Regions from separate parts of the Homo sapiens genome. Here all the other regions are linked to region 2. The links are contacts of gene promoters, found by promoter capture Hi-C in blood cells and fetal thymus (Javierre and others, 2016). All regions are on one chromosome and are shown on one strand. The core of a region is centred on a gene start or on the middle of the fragment in contact, and the rest is flanking DNA. Distances in the headings are between cores, read along the strand shown.

Evidence for each region. The method cuts DNA at HindIII sites, captures the fragments that hold promoters and counts their contacts. A CHiCAGO score of 5 or more calls a contact.
Region 1: a fragment that was not itself captured here is called in contact with the fragment with the promoter of GDF3 in region 2 in 3 of 17 cell types (M0 macrophages, total CD8 T cells and fetal thymus); the score reaches 5.5 in M0 macrophages.
Region 3: a fragment that was not itself captured here is called in contact with the fragment with the promoter of GDF3 in region 2 in 4 of 17 cell types (M0 macrophages, monocytes, non-activated CD4 T cells and 1 more); the score reaches 6.9 in M0 macrophages.

Annotation. Positions count from the first base shown.
Region 1 is chr12:7,260,754-7,265,716 of GRCh38, reverse strand. No RefSeq gene overlaps it. Among named protein-coding and RNA genes, the nearest start is that of ACSM4, 41 kb to the left of the region's middle. The HindIII fragment of the contact is 3,417 bases long and covers 1-3,118 here.
Region 2 is chr12:7,693,778-7,698,283 of GRCh38, reverse strand. It overlaps GDF3 (growth differentiation factor 3), which reads left to right and starts at 2,509. Exons shown (of 2, transcript NM_020634.3): 1 at 2,509-2,823. The coding sequence starts at 2,556. RefSeq lists an enhancer at 4,028-4,506. The HindIII fragment of the contact is 5,455 bases long and covers 2,160-4,506 here.
Region 3 is chr12:7,206,461-7,211,272 of GRCh38, reverse strand. PEX5 (peroxisomal biogenesis factor 5) reads right to left here. Exons shown (of 16, transcript NM_001351132.2): 11 at 3,471-3,614; 12 at 3,193-3,263; 13 at 2,604-2,816; 14 at 2,103-2,268; 15 at 1,433-1,590; 16 at 1-1,251. The coding sequence ends at 1,050. Among named protein-coding and RNA genes, the nearest start is that of PEX5, 19 kb to the right of the region's middle. The HindIII fragment of the contact is 976 bases long and covers 2,900-3,875 here.

The DNA.
Region 1 (4,963 bases), core at 161-2,660, 430 kb after region 2:
TAACATTATGTGTCTGGATCAATCTATATTTGGTTGAAACCCAGGATTATTTACTACTCAAATATTTACTAATTAATGTACTTTGTATCACACTCAGTGAAGAGTTTAGAGGTACACAAGGTACAGATACATAACAGCACACAGTTATTGGAATAAAGGAAATGGGAAAGTGTTGGAGGCCAAAAGAATGAGGGTCATGACCAACTCAGTATACCACTGGAGGCTATATGAGCAAATAGCAAACTGTTCTCATGAAAGCGGGAGTTGGCAAACTGGCAAACTGCATCTGCTGCCAGAAGGAATGCTGAGGCAGTCACGCCCCAAGCGCAGTGTTCCTTGTGGTTATCTATAGGAATATCTGAAGCCTGTAGTATAAAAAAAGCAATTAGGTGAACCTGTGATAAATCAAGCAGCTGACCAACCATTACCTTTCCTCCCTGTTGATTCTACGTAATAAATACAAAGGGCTGTAGAAGCTCAGGGCCCTTGCTCACTAGAAACAAGGAGCCCCCCACCCCTTCTTTTAAAACAGATCTTTTGTCTTTGTCTTCATTTCTGCATTCGTCCTCCTTCGTTCAGTCCCATAGTAACCGTCACAGGAAGGGGCTGTCACTCTGTCTTTGTCCCCTTAGGAGCTGATGGCACATACATTAGACAATAGCTAAACATGAGTTGCAGTATTTTCTATGCAGACAGACCAGTGAGTCAAAGATGGTGCTACCATAGACTCCAACCTCTACCTCCTGAGACTTCTGGCCTGAGAGGATAATTGCCTTAGGGAGTCTGCTCTTAAACAGTACTCAGATCTTCAGAGGTTTTCAAGAAGATGAAGGGATTCAGATGCCAGATGTGGTGATCAAAACATGAATTCCATTTCTTCCTCTAGGCCAGTGGGCAGAACCCCAGGTGCAGCCAGAAGAAGAAAGAGCTGTTGTTTCCTATGAATGGAAATCAGAAACCAGTATTTAAGGGTTTAATCCAAATTAATGATCTGCATTTCAGGGCCCCAGATGGTGTAGGTTGGATTACCCCATATATTGCTTCAGACTTTACCCTGTCAGTAAGTGGGGGGTGATGGGCTTGTCACATTTCTTATTTATTCAGCTGGATGAACAGATCATGAGAAATGGGGAAAGTCTATACTGGAACAATTAAATGTTTTTAGAGCCATGTCATTATCTTCCCTCACGCCATTGGAATATAAACTCTATAAAAAGGGAGATTTTTGTCTGTTCTGTTCACTATTCTATTTTTTGCACTTTGGACAATGCCTGGAACATAGTAGCTTTTTTATTTGTTAAATAAATTAATATATTTCTCCCAGAGCAACATCAACATGTGTGGGCTCTTCTTTAGGGACCTTCCTTTTGCCCTTGCTTGGCCCACATATGCATCTTTCTCCAAGGGAGGTATTTGTGGTCTGGATGTGGCTATTCTGGAGTTTCTCATTCATTAATTACCTTGTCAGATTGAACAACTGACATCCTTTGTACTGAAGAAATATCTACAGGAATGTTTTCTGCTGATGGACTTAGAGTTTTCCACTTTTAATAGATTTATTAGCAACAAAATAAAGCACATACACAACACACACACACACTTTTGGGCATGTGTGATGCATAAGTAGAGCTGGTAATTTGTCATCTCTAGACAAACTCAGAGAGGAAGGATGCAGTTTGTATCAGTCAGGATGAACTACGCTATGCTACATAATAAAGAATCCCCCAAATCTCCGTGGTCTATAACATCACAATCTTTTGCTCTCACTACTTGTTCAGCATGGGTTGGCTGAGAGATCTTCTGTGACCTGGCTGATAGAACAACCATTATCTGAAGGATCGCCCATCATAAGTGTGGGAAAGGAAGCAATTATGTGCTCCAGCCTAGACATGGTATACATCATTCCAGCTCATAATTCATTGGCCAGAGCTTGTCACAAGGCCCAAGTGGAAATTGTAGTACTATCTGGGGGGTTGATATGCTTTGGATCTGTGTCCCCACCAAATCTCATGTTGAATTATAATTCTCAGTGTTGGAAATGGGGCCTGGTGGGAGGTGATTGGATCATGGGGGCAGATTGGATCATGGGTGCTGATAGCCAGTGAGTTATCATGAGATCTGGTTATTTAAAAGTGTGTAAAGTATGTAGCACCTTCTCCCATCTCTCTTCCTCCTGCTCCGGCTATGTGAAGTGCTGGCTGCCCCTTTGCCTTCTGTCATGATTGTAAGTTTCCTGAGGTCCCCCAGGCAGCAGAAGCTGCTATGCTTCCTGTACAGCCTGCAGAACCATGAGCCAATTAAACCTCTTTTCTGTATAAATTACCCAGTTACCCAGTCTCAGATATTTATTTTTCTTTCTTTTTTTTCAGGTATTTCTTTATAACAATAAGAGAATGGACTAATACAGGGGTGGATAGCTGGGTAATAACTACCACAGTTGTTTTACCACAGTGTTCTAGATTGATTTTATTTCTGGAAGTTTCTTTCTTTCTCTTTCTTTCTTTCTTTCTTTCAACTTTGTTTCTTTCCTCCTTTTTTTCTTTGCCAATCTCTGGGAAATCATTTTTTCTCTGAGACAGTTTTTCACACTATTGCCCAGGCTGGAGTGTAATGGTGCCATTGTGGTTCACTGCAGCCTCAACCTCCAGAGCTCAGGTGATCCTCTCACACCGGCCTCCTGAGTGTCTGGGACTAAGGACATGTGCCTCCATGGCCGGCTGGTGGTAGTTTTTCATAACAGAACCCAAGAGCACTTTCCTAGAGAGCAGTAGTTTAAATATTAGACTGGCCATTTTGTAACCTCAGCAAACTAGGTCTTACAGCAGCAATGATCATAGACTTCGAATCAGAGAGACGCACCTCTGCTACTTAATAGTTGTGTGGCATTACATAAGACACTAAATCTCTCCAAGATGAGTACTGTCATCTCTAAATTGGGTCTTACTCACAGATAAGATGAAATTGTTATGAAGATACTAGACCATCTAGTGAATTGCTTAGTATACAATATCTGGTACATATTACCAATTCAATACATGTTAGTTAGCTTGGAAGATAGAAAGTCTTACATTTTATTAGTTGGTGTTTCTTGAGCCAAGTTTTCTTGGCAGGTAAAGCTTTTATGTTCTCAGGAGGTCTGGCAATTAAGATTGCTCAAATTTCTCTGTGGGGGAATGTTATTTGAAATGATTCTTCTGTTTACCAGGTTCAACTTACATTAATTCTCTGCTTCCACACACAGTCTTTCACCTATATTCTCTTTACTACAGAATATCTGGAAGTCTCTTCTTTTTAAAAAATTTTCTGAAATATATATATGTGTATATTTGTGTGTATATATACCTCTTTTCTGTATAAAGTACCCAGTTACCCAGTCTCAGGTATTTATTTTTCTTTCTTTTTTTTCAGGTATTTCTTTTTTTTTTTTTTTTTTTTTTTTTTTTGAGACAGAGTCTCGCTCTGTTGCCCAGGCTGGAGTGCAGTGGCAGAATCTCAGCTCACTGCAACCTCCACCTCCCCGGTTCAAGCAATTTTCATTCCTCAGCCTCCTGAATAGCTGGGATTGCAGGTGCGCCCCATCATGCCTGGCTAATTTTTATATTTTTAGTAGAGATAGGGTTCCACCATGTTGGCCAGACTGGTCTCGAACTCCTGGCCTCAAGTGATGTGCCTGCCATGACCTCCCAAAGTGCTAGAAGTCTCAATATTAGTCTCAACCTTGGATATCCATCAGAATCCCCAGGGCATTTTTCAAAAGATCTATGCCTGAGCCCCACCTCAGACCAATTAAATCAGTTTCTCTGGGAGTGGGGACCCAGTCATCCATATTTTTAAAGCTCCTCTGGGGATTCTGGTGAGCAGCGAGGACTGAGAACTGCTGCTCTACATGTCTGGTTTTTGCCCATGTCTCTAGCCTCATCTCCTGCCACTGTCCTCCCTGTGCTCATCACGCTTTTTTTTTTGCTGTTCATTGAACATGCCAAGGTGGCTCCTACTCCAGAACCTTGACATTCACTGTTCCCTCAGCCTAAGTGTGTTGCTTCAGATTTCCATATAACTGATTCTTGTTCATGAGGTCTCAACTCAAATGTCATGTCTTCAGAATTTCACTCCACTACCCATTCTAAAGTAGCACTCCTCATCTGGTTTTACTTGAGCTATTTGCTGATTAATCTGCTATTTTCCTGCCTGTCTTCTCATTAGAACGTAGACTCCAAAAAAGTAGAGCTCTTGTCTGATTTATTCACTATTATATGTCCAGGGTTTAGAGCACTATCTGGCACATAGTAGATACTCAATAAATATTTGTTGAATAAATTATTCTTGTCTGCCATAAACTAATATAATTACAAAATGTTGTTTTAATGATCAATTCTTACGATATATTTACAAAACAATCATTTCCTTAGAAGCGAGCCTTGCAGTTTCTATTTTCTCATGCCCCTTTACATAGTTTATATTGTTTAACTATTTGTTATAGGGAGAAAAAAGAGATAACGCTATAGATAAATACCCATTTTTATTACGATTATTGTACCTACAGCCTTTGCTCTATCCTGTTTTCCTGTCCATTTTATTCTTTTCTCTCAGTGGTTACCATCATTCTGAAGGTTTCTTGGGTTTGAAGGCATTGATGTTTCTTTTCCTTAAATTTCTCTCTCTAGTGATCATTAAGAAAGACTAGGGGACTTGAGTGAAATGTCTGGGTTTGAATTCTGACCCTGCAAATTTCCAAGGGCAGGTCATTTAACCTCTTTGAACCTCAGTTTCCTCATTAATGAAGTGAGGACACTAATAGTTTCTCAAAAAACTATTTTTTGAGTTCCTGTCTCAAAAAACTGTCATAAAAGAAAGTGAGAAAATATAGGTAAAATTACCTCCTCCTTGCAGAAGCCATCAGCAACAACTTCCTCAACTTGGAGTCTTTCCCTTTCACTCATTTTTTCTCTTCTACATCCCACCT
Region 2 (4,506 bases), core at 1,260-3,759:
TAATAATGACGATAATAATAATAGCTAACTTTTATTGAGTGCTTTCCATTCGGCAGACATTGTCCTGAATGTCATCTGTACATTATTTTACGAGTTGCCCTCAGCACCTTAACAAAGAATGTTTTTGTTTGTTTGTTTGTTTGTTTTGAGACGGAGTCTTGCTCTATCCCAGGCTGGAGTGCAGTGGCGCGATCTCTGCTCACTGCAAGCTCCGCCTCCTGGGTTCACGCCATTCTCCTGCCTCAGCCTCCCGAGTAGCTGGGACTACAGGCACCCGCTACCATGCCCGGCTAATTCTTTTGTATTTTTAGTAGAGACGGGGTTTCACCATGTTAGCCAGGATGGTCTCGATCTCCTGACCTCGTGATCCGCCCGCCTCGGCCTCCCAAAGTGCTAGGATTACAGGCATGAGCCACCGCGCCCAGCAACGAAGAATATTTTATTCCCATTTTACACTTGAGTGGCTTGCTCATGGTCACATAACTAATCAGTAGTGGAACCAGAATTTGAACCAGTTAGTCTGATTTCTGACCTTAAGTCAGGAAAGTCAAATAAAGAAAACCCAAATACAACCTACTCTTATTGTTGAAAAAAGGTTAAGATTGTAGATTAATTTAAAAGTGTTAAATAAGATAGAAACAGGAGATAAGAGAAGTGGGACCTGCGAGCAGTGGCACCTGCCTGTAGTTCTAGTTACTTGGAGGCTGAGGCAGAAGATTCCCTTGATCCAGTAATTCAAGGCCAGCCTGGGCAACACAGTGAGACACTCCCCAAACCTAGTCTCTAAAAAAAAAAAAGAAAAAAAAGAAATGGGGAAGACCTCACTATATAAAAGAGTGAGACCTCTAGAAATAGCAACCAATTAATTCCTTAATTTATTTTTTGCACAGATACTTATCAAATGTCTGCTACCTGCCGGACACTTTCTTCACCAGTGGAGATACTTTGGGGAAAAAGACACACTGAAGATACTTAGGCAAAGAGACACAGTTCTGATCCTCAAGGTGTGAGTTGTCTGAAAAGGAAGGAGGCAAACACAGTAAAATGCACTGCAGAAACTGTAATGGAGGGCCGGGTGCAGTGGCTCACACCTATAATCCCAACACTTTGGGAGGCCGAGGTGGGTGGATTACCTGAGGTCAGGAGTTTGAGACCAGCCTGACCGACATGGAGAAACCCCGTCTCTACTAAAAATACAAAAGTAGCCGGGCATGGTAGCGCATGCCTGTAATCCCAGCTACTAGGGAGGCTGAGGCAGGAGAATTGCTTGAACCTGGGAGGCAGAGGTTGTGGTGAGCTGAGATCGTGCCATTGCACTGCAGCCAGGGCAACAAGAGCGAAACTCCGTCTCAAAAAAAACAAAAAAACAAAAAAACTGTAATGGATGCCCAAGTATGGCTCAGTGGGAGAAAGAAGTATCTCAATCTATTTTGGTGAGTCGAAACTGTGGAAGTAGAGGTGACCTTTGAACTTGGTCTGTGTAAAGGCTCTGAGATGAAATGAGCTCACAGAGCTACAAATAGGTCAATGTAATTAGAGCATCCACACTAAGGATGGTGGGTGGTGAGAAACAAGGCTGGCGGCTGGGTGTAGTGGCTCATGCCTACAATCCCAGCACTTTGGGAGGCCGAGGTGGGAAGACTGCTTGAGACCAGGAGTTCAAGACCAGTCTGGACAACATGGCAAGGCCCCATCTCTGTAAAAAATAAAACAATTAGCTGGAAGTGGTGCCCTATGCCTGTAGTCTCAACTACTCCAGAGGCTGAGGTGGGATGATCTCTTGAGCTCAGGGGGTCGAGGCTTGCAGTGAGCCAAGATCAGGCCACTGCACTCCAGCCTGGGCAACAGAGCGAGACCCTGTCTCAAAAATAAATAAATACATAAATAAAAATAAAAATAAAAATAAAATAATGAAATCTACTTGAGTATTTGTCTAATCCAGGGGTGTCCAATCTTTTGGCTTCCCTGGGTCACATTGGAAGAAGAAGAATTGTTTTGGGCCACACGTAAAATATACTAACACTAATGATAGCTGATGAGCTTAAAAAAATCACAAGAAAGTTTCATAATGTTTTACGGAAGTTTATGAATCTGTGTGGGGCTGCATTCAAAGCCATCGTGAGCCTCATGTGACCCTCCGGCCGCAGGTTGGACAAGCTTGGTCTATGTAGATGATTAATTACAAGTCTATGAATTATTCACTGCTCTATTCCTAGCACCTATCTCAGCACCGTGCACATAATAGATGCTTAGTAACTGTTTGTTAAATGAATAAATGCATGTCTCCTTTTCACTCTGTCTACTGCTGACAACCTCACATTGTTGTAGAATTTATGTCCATGCATTGGTAATCTTTGTTCTGTGAACTTTTTCCTGGAAGAGTAGAGCAAGAGAAGAGAAAAAAAAATTCCCTCTTCACATCCAATGGCCTTTGAGGAGCTGGGAAGAGAGCAATTCACACTTGATTATCTTACATCAGATAAATTAGCAGCCTCTGAATTGTTGGGCAGTCTGGCAGTGGAGCTCTCCCCGGTCTGACAGCCACTCCAGAGGCCATGCTTCGTTTCTTGCCAGATTTGGCTTTCAGCTTCCTGTTAATTCTGGCTTTGGGCCAGGCAGTCCAATTTCAAGAATATGTCTTTCTCCAATTTCTGGGCTTAGATAAGGCGCCTTCACCCCAGAAGTTCCAACCTGTGCCTTATATCTTGAAGAAAATTTTCCAGGATCGCGAGGCAGCAGCGACCACTGGGGTCTCCCGAGACTTATGCTACGTAAAGGAGCTGGGCGTCCGCGGGAATGTACTTCGCTTTCTCCCAGACCAAGGTAAGGAAATAGAGTGTTATCCAGAAAAACATCTGGAACTGGGTGGTGTGAAGAAAGGAAAGGACAATAGGAAATGACAATTACTGATGGCCTTGTGCTGGTATTTTTCATATTTTGTCTCATTTAATTCCAGCCACGATCCTGAGAGGAAGTTAGATATTCTTATCAAGTTCCTAACAGTAAGGAAATTAGGCTCAGACAGTAGGTAACCTGTAATCTATTCAAGATCATACAGCTAGTGTGTGAGAACAAAGTCAGGATTTGAAATAGGTTTTTGTTTTCTGAATCAACTGCTTTGTGCTTCAGTTGAGATGAAAGAGGTGAGGGAGGAATCAGAGCTCAGTCTCCCACCCTGCAGCCCATATATACACATCCTGCCGTCTTCCATGTGGCAAGCAGGGTATGAAAATTTTGAGGTTGGTTTGCCCAGGAGTCCTGCTTCCCTTATTTGTACCTCCTGGCTACTCTTGTTGGGTGGCAAAGGTTATTCTAGATTTGTGAATAGAGAGCAATAATATATACAACTGTCATATCCTTTTAAAAGGATCTCAGTGAGTGGGATCCAGTACTTTCCCAAACTGACCACCCACCAAATAACTTAGGTCTTCCATTAACAGTAGATCCTCCAACCCCATTCCTGCCCCTAGTTCTCCCCACCCAATTCTTATTCAAAGTCTGAAATGGGTGTTGAGAATCTGCATGTCTATACAACCTCCCGGGTGTTTCAGATGCAGAATTTAGAGCCTTGGTTAGTTTTACAGCAACTGGAGAGAAGATTTGAATATTTATTTGTCCAAGAAGCACTTATTGGATACCTATGGTGAGCCAGGAACTGTGTATGGCCTTGAGAATACAAGATAAAGTTTGCCTTTTTTTTTTTTTTTTTTTTTTGAGAGTCTCGCTCTGTCCCCCAGGCTGGAGTAGAGTGGCACTTTCTCAGCTCACTGCAACCTCCGCTTCCTGGGTTCAAGTGATTCTTCTGCCTCAGCTTCCCAAGTAGCTGGGATTACAGGCGTGTGTCACCAAGCCCAGCTAATTTTTTAATTTTTTAATTTTTTAGTAGAGACAGGGTTTCACTATATGTTGGCCAGGCTGGTCTTGAACTCCTGACTTCAGGTGATCCGCCTGCCTCAGCCTCCCAAACTGCTGGGATTACAGGCCTGAGCCACCGCACCCAGCCCAGAATTACCTTTTAAAAATGCGTATTGAGTCGTACTGCTCCTCCACGTAAAATTCTCGTCTGCAAAATTCTGCAAGAGTTGACCCACCATGCCCTGCCTGTTCTGACCCTGCTGCTTACTTCCCCAGTCTCACCTTTTACACCCTCTCCTTGCACACTCAACTCCAAGCTCATAGTAGTCTATTCCTTCTAGAGCATGCACTCTTGTCTCATCCTCACACGTGCTGTATCCAGGCTGCCTGAAGTACTCCCTCAGAATTTGCCTGGTCAAGTACTTCAGGCTTTTCTTCTTCTTCCTCTTGTTCTTCCTCTTTTTGTTTTTTCCCCTTGAGACAGGTCTTGCTGTGTCACCCAGGCTGGACTGCAGTGGCACAATCTCGGCTCACTGCAGCCTCCACCTCCTGGGCTCAAGCGATCTTCCCACCTCAGCCTGCCGAGTAGAGTAGTTGGAACTACAGGCTACAGGTGCACGCAACCACGCCAGGCTGATTTTTGTACTTTTT
Region 3 (4,812 bases), core at 2,138-4,637, 490 kb after region 2:
TGCAGGGGACAACTGAGAAGAATCCAAGCTGCTCCCTCATCTTCCTTCGATCTAGATGGGGGAAGGGGATTTTCCAATGCTCTCCCCTAGAAACATTTCAAGAAGTACAGCAAAGGCTTATGGTAACACTGAACCTATTTGCTAGAAATCTGGCAAGATTGCACTTTCTGAACCAATTTTCTATAACAGTTGGCTCAATTCCCATTCACAGGTGCTTCTAAGAGGATGAGGGATTGCCGCACTCACCATACCCCCTTCCCACTTGCTCTGTCCTCCCACCAACGTTCCTGAATAGAGCCCTTGATCTCTTCTGATCTAGTCCCTCCCCGCTCCCACCCAGCCTCATTTCACAAGCAAACCTTCCTCCTATGCCACACACCCAGACACTCTGTAGCAATTGGCCCTGGCAGCTCCTGAGGACCGCTGCAGTGATGACACAGGACTATTGCATCAGCATCGTGCTCACAGGGAATCAGAGCTCAGCCAGGAGAGGTCCAAGAATGACAGAACCATGAGCACTCCTACCAAAACTCAGCTCTGCTCAGCCAAATCAACAATTCAACCCAACAGGCCAACTCCTAACACATCCCATCCAGACAGACATTAGAGGCGCACAGCAGATGAACCTCCTACTTACACTGCCCAAGGAAGCTGGACTATCAATTCCCAGTAAAAGTGGGGGAAAGGACAGACATTACAGATGTGGTAGACCCTATCAGAAATGGCAGCTGATGATAACAGTTACCCTAAATCGTGGGGTCCTACCCAAAAAGCAGCACCAAGAAAGGGCATGATGAGCAGAGAGATCTGTAGCTGGATGTACAGCCCTTGAATTACCAAGGGACTCAGAGATGACACAGCTCATTTTCCTACAATTATGTAGGAACTAGAACACAGACTACCCACCCCTACGTTGAGGCAGCTCCTGAAAGGCCGTACCGCTTATGGTCATCAGCCCGCCCCCTTGGTAGGCCCATTTGGGGAGAGGGAATCACATCCAAAGCGGGGATCCCTCCAGGTGGACACTCACAGGGCAGCCCGTCCCACTGTCACTGGGGCAGGCCAAACATAGTTAGGAGGGTGGACAGATCCCGCGCGTCGGCTGCCCCATAGGCATCGCTCTGGCCTAACATAGACAATGCCAAACGCAGGGTGCTCCAGATGTTCTCCGACATGGCACCTCCTTCACCCCGGGGGCCCCGGCTTTTCCTCTGCATGTTCAGGGCCTCCAGAAAGTGCTCCACAGCCTCCCTGTAAGGAAGAAGAGGAATGAGAGCTGTTAAGCTGAACAACAATGGAAGGAAGCAGGTCAGCTAGCAGTGGGAGGGAGAAAGCTAGGGCTGGTTAGTCAAACAGGATCTAAGAATAAGGAGCTAGGGCCAAAGGCAGGGAGAAAAAGCTCATTCATTCATTTCTCAATAGATACTCTCACCGGTGAGCCCCGAGGTTGATGCAGCTGATGCCCAGGTTATAGCGGGACCGGATATAGCCAGGCTGGAGCTCGAGGGCCCGGCGGTACGCAGCTACTGCTTCTTCACTCTGGTTTCCATTGGCCAGGGTGGCGCCTAGCTTATTCCACAGCAAATAGTCCTGGGATAGGGATGCAGAACGGATGGGAACAGCTTGACTCAGCTCAAACTCTGCACATTACTCCACCGACTCAGCTCAAACTCTGCACATTACTCCAGCTGTTTCACTACTCTGTTAGCTAACATGTTTCGTCCCATTCCATTCTCAACAGTTCGGTGTGTGGCTACAATGTAGCCCCTCTCACCCTATGCAGACTCTCTTATGTCCAGATGACCCTACACTCCCAGCCTTCTTTTCCCAGTCCTCCCAAGGCAGTCAGTACATGGAACACTGGAATGAAATACCCCAAGACTCCAAAAGTCTGAACAAATTATTCTTTTTTGTGGGGGTGGGCAGGGTCTTGCTATGTTGCCCAGGCTGGATTTGAACTCCCAGGCTCAAGTGATCCTCCCACTTCAGCCTCCCAAGTAGCTGGGACTACAGGCATGCACCATCAAACCCAGCTTCCCAACAAATGGCTCTTCAATAAGGTACACAGTCATGTCCCATTTCCATTCCTCCCCTGGGCTCACATTGGGACGAACGCTGAGGGCAGCTGTGAAGCAGTCCACGGCCTTGTCATACTCCCCACTCAGGTTGAAAAGGACTCCCAAGCCACACTGCACATCAGGGTCAATGGAGGTAGGGTCCAGCCGCACAGCTGCCAGGAAGAGCTCTTTCACTTCAAGAAACAGGGAGCTGGATGAAAAGGAAAAAAACACAAAGTAGGTAGATGAATGTCTCTATTCCCATCCCCCCAAATTAATTTCTTCATTGATCAACCATATCCCCAACATTCATCAATCTATCAGTCATCTCTTCTACTCTCAAAGTCCAATATAGAAGCCTGTTTTTCTATTTCATCCTAGCACTGAACTGTAGAATGCAGACCTCCTTCAACTTGATCCTAGGTTTCCCATCCCATTCTCAGGACCCTTCAGTCTCAATCCATCCAAACTTCCAAAACCAAGGTCACCCTCCTACTGGGACTTAGGTTACTGTAATTCCTCATCCTAGGAACCCCTCATACTCACTCAGACAAGAGAGATCCCAGGATACGCTTGCTGGGGCCCAGTCCTGCCCCACCAGCCCCTTCTTCAGCAGGTGTCACCAGATGGGCATAGGCTGGTGTGTACCGCAGCCAGTCTCGTAGGGTTTCACAGGCCTGTCGCTGCAGGGACTCGTTGGTGAAGCTCACAGCCAGCGCCATCAGTGCTGTCTGGTTATCTGGCTTTAGCTCCAGACACCTGTTTGATCAGGGATGGGCAGACTTGATATCTGCAATGACTGACACTGGCACATGTGAGCACCCTGGGATCCAAGCCAAGCTTTGAAATGCAGAGTCACAATGGCCTCACCTGTGACTCCTCTGACATGAGTTAATAATAAAGTTACAGATCTAAGGGGAAGGTTTTAGCAGGCAAGGAGCCAACCAAAGCCGCAAATAAAATCAAAAGCCGATGAAGGAATGGAATTCACTCCAACCCTCAGAGTTTCAGCATGAGAAAACACTCTTGATAGCACTCAGAAAGAAGACAAGGATCCAGGTCTGGGCTTCTGTCATTCAAAAGGTTATATGCAGAGCCTTGGAAGCACCTCACCCACACCTTTCAGTGTACTCACCTCCGCAATGCACTGATGGCTAATAGTTCTTGTTCATTCTCTGCCTGGGTGGTACCCAGATACTGCCAAGCCTAGAGGGAAGTTGACAGATTCCATCACCCCATATTCACCTCTCCATTCGCCCTTCCCCCTGGCTTCTCCCACTCACCATCTCGCTCTCAAGCCCCTATCCTAGGCCATCACCCAGGCCCTAACCCATCTGCACTACTCTCCTTGGGGCCTTTCTCAAGATGGAGGAAGCAGTCTCTAGCCAGAAATGAGACTATGGAGTCACTCACTTCCATGTGCTTAGGATCCTGCTGCACAGCTGCCTCAAAAAGCAGCACAGCATTTGGCAGGTCCCCCTCCTGAAGGCGCCGCAGCCCTTCTTCAAAAGGCTGAGGGTGATCACGCAAGGGGTTCTCCTCCTCAAACTGGTACCCCTACAAGAAAAGCACGTGAGAGATGGACTGAGAGGTGGCACCGTCAGAACAGCAGGGATGTGAGGATGACAACCAGCAGGCAGAGAAGCTGAGGGCCTCCAAACAGGTTCCGGAATTAATTGCTGGCAAATTCTCCATATTATAAAGATCATGTATGACACAAGTAAAATCATTTGGTATCAGGTTTGTGCTCCCATCTCCTGTTCATGATACCTGGGAAGCTAGGAAAGTCTACAAATTCATCTGCGCTGGAAATAAGCTTATTTTAGGAAGTCATCACAGGCTTGTATTCCCACACCTTGACTTCTCACCACGGGGCAGAATGTCTCAACAGGATCTGCTTATAGTAATGAGACAAAGTGTCCCTAGCTATGCAAAGTGCATTTCTTGTTATCCTTCAATAATGTGATGATGTATAAAGGAAATGTTGTTTGGAGTCCTGCTATTCAAATATAACTCTTACTTAGCTCAGAGTCATTCCACATGTCAACTAGATAAAACATTTTCAAGCATTTTGAAAATGTTAATTTATTCCCCGATTTCATTCTTAATAATCATGAATATTAATCTGTATCTGACAGTAAGCAAAAGCTGGATCCCAAAATCCAGATGGCAGAGAATACTTCAGAAAGACACCATTCTCTTCCAGCTGAGGATTTCTCACTTTAGAGAAGAGTTACGATACTATCTGCAAAGCTTTGTCAACTGGCATTTTACACTAGGCAGAGAAGAAATGAGGTAAAGGGGAAGTCACTAGTAAGCTGCAAAATCTGGGACATGCAAATAAAAAGTCCGTTTTTGGAGAGTAGTTACCATCATAAAATAATACACCAGAACGAAAACAAGATGCAAAACAACAGGTGGAGGTCTTTCTAAATGCAGTTAAGAATAAATTCAGATAAAACTGTACAAAATAAAGACATGAGGCCCTTTTTCATTATTATTGTGAAAATGATAAAGAATCAAAAACACTTAAATCTTACCAGCAAAATTCTAAGTCATGATCAGATGCAAATTATTTGTCACAAATGAAAATTAAATAATTACAATGGGGGGTTTAAGAAGAAAGACATATTATAGTAGATTTGAGATAAATGTATAGAAAGTATATTTATATTGAAAACAAGTGTGTTTTTGGACATCTCTGCATAATATAAAAACTAAGAAGGCAGAAAATGACGCTAGTCCAGTGATCAGC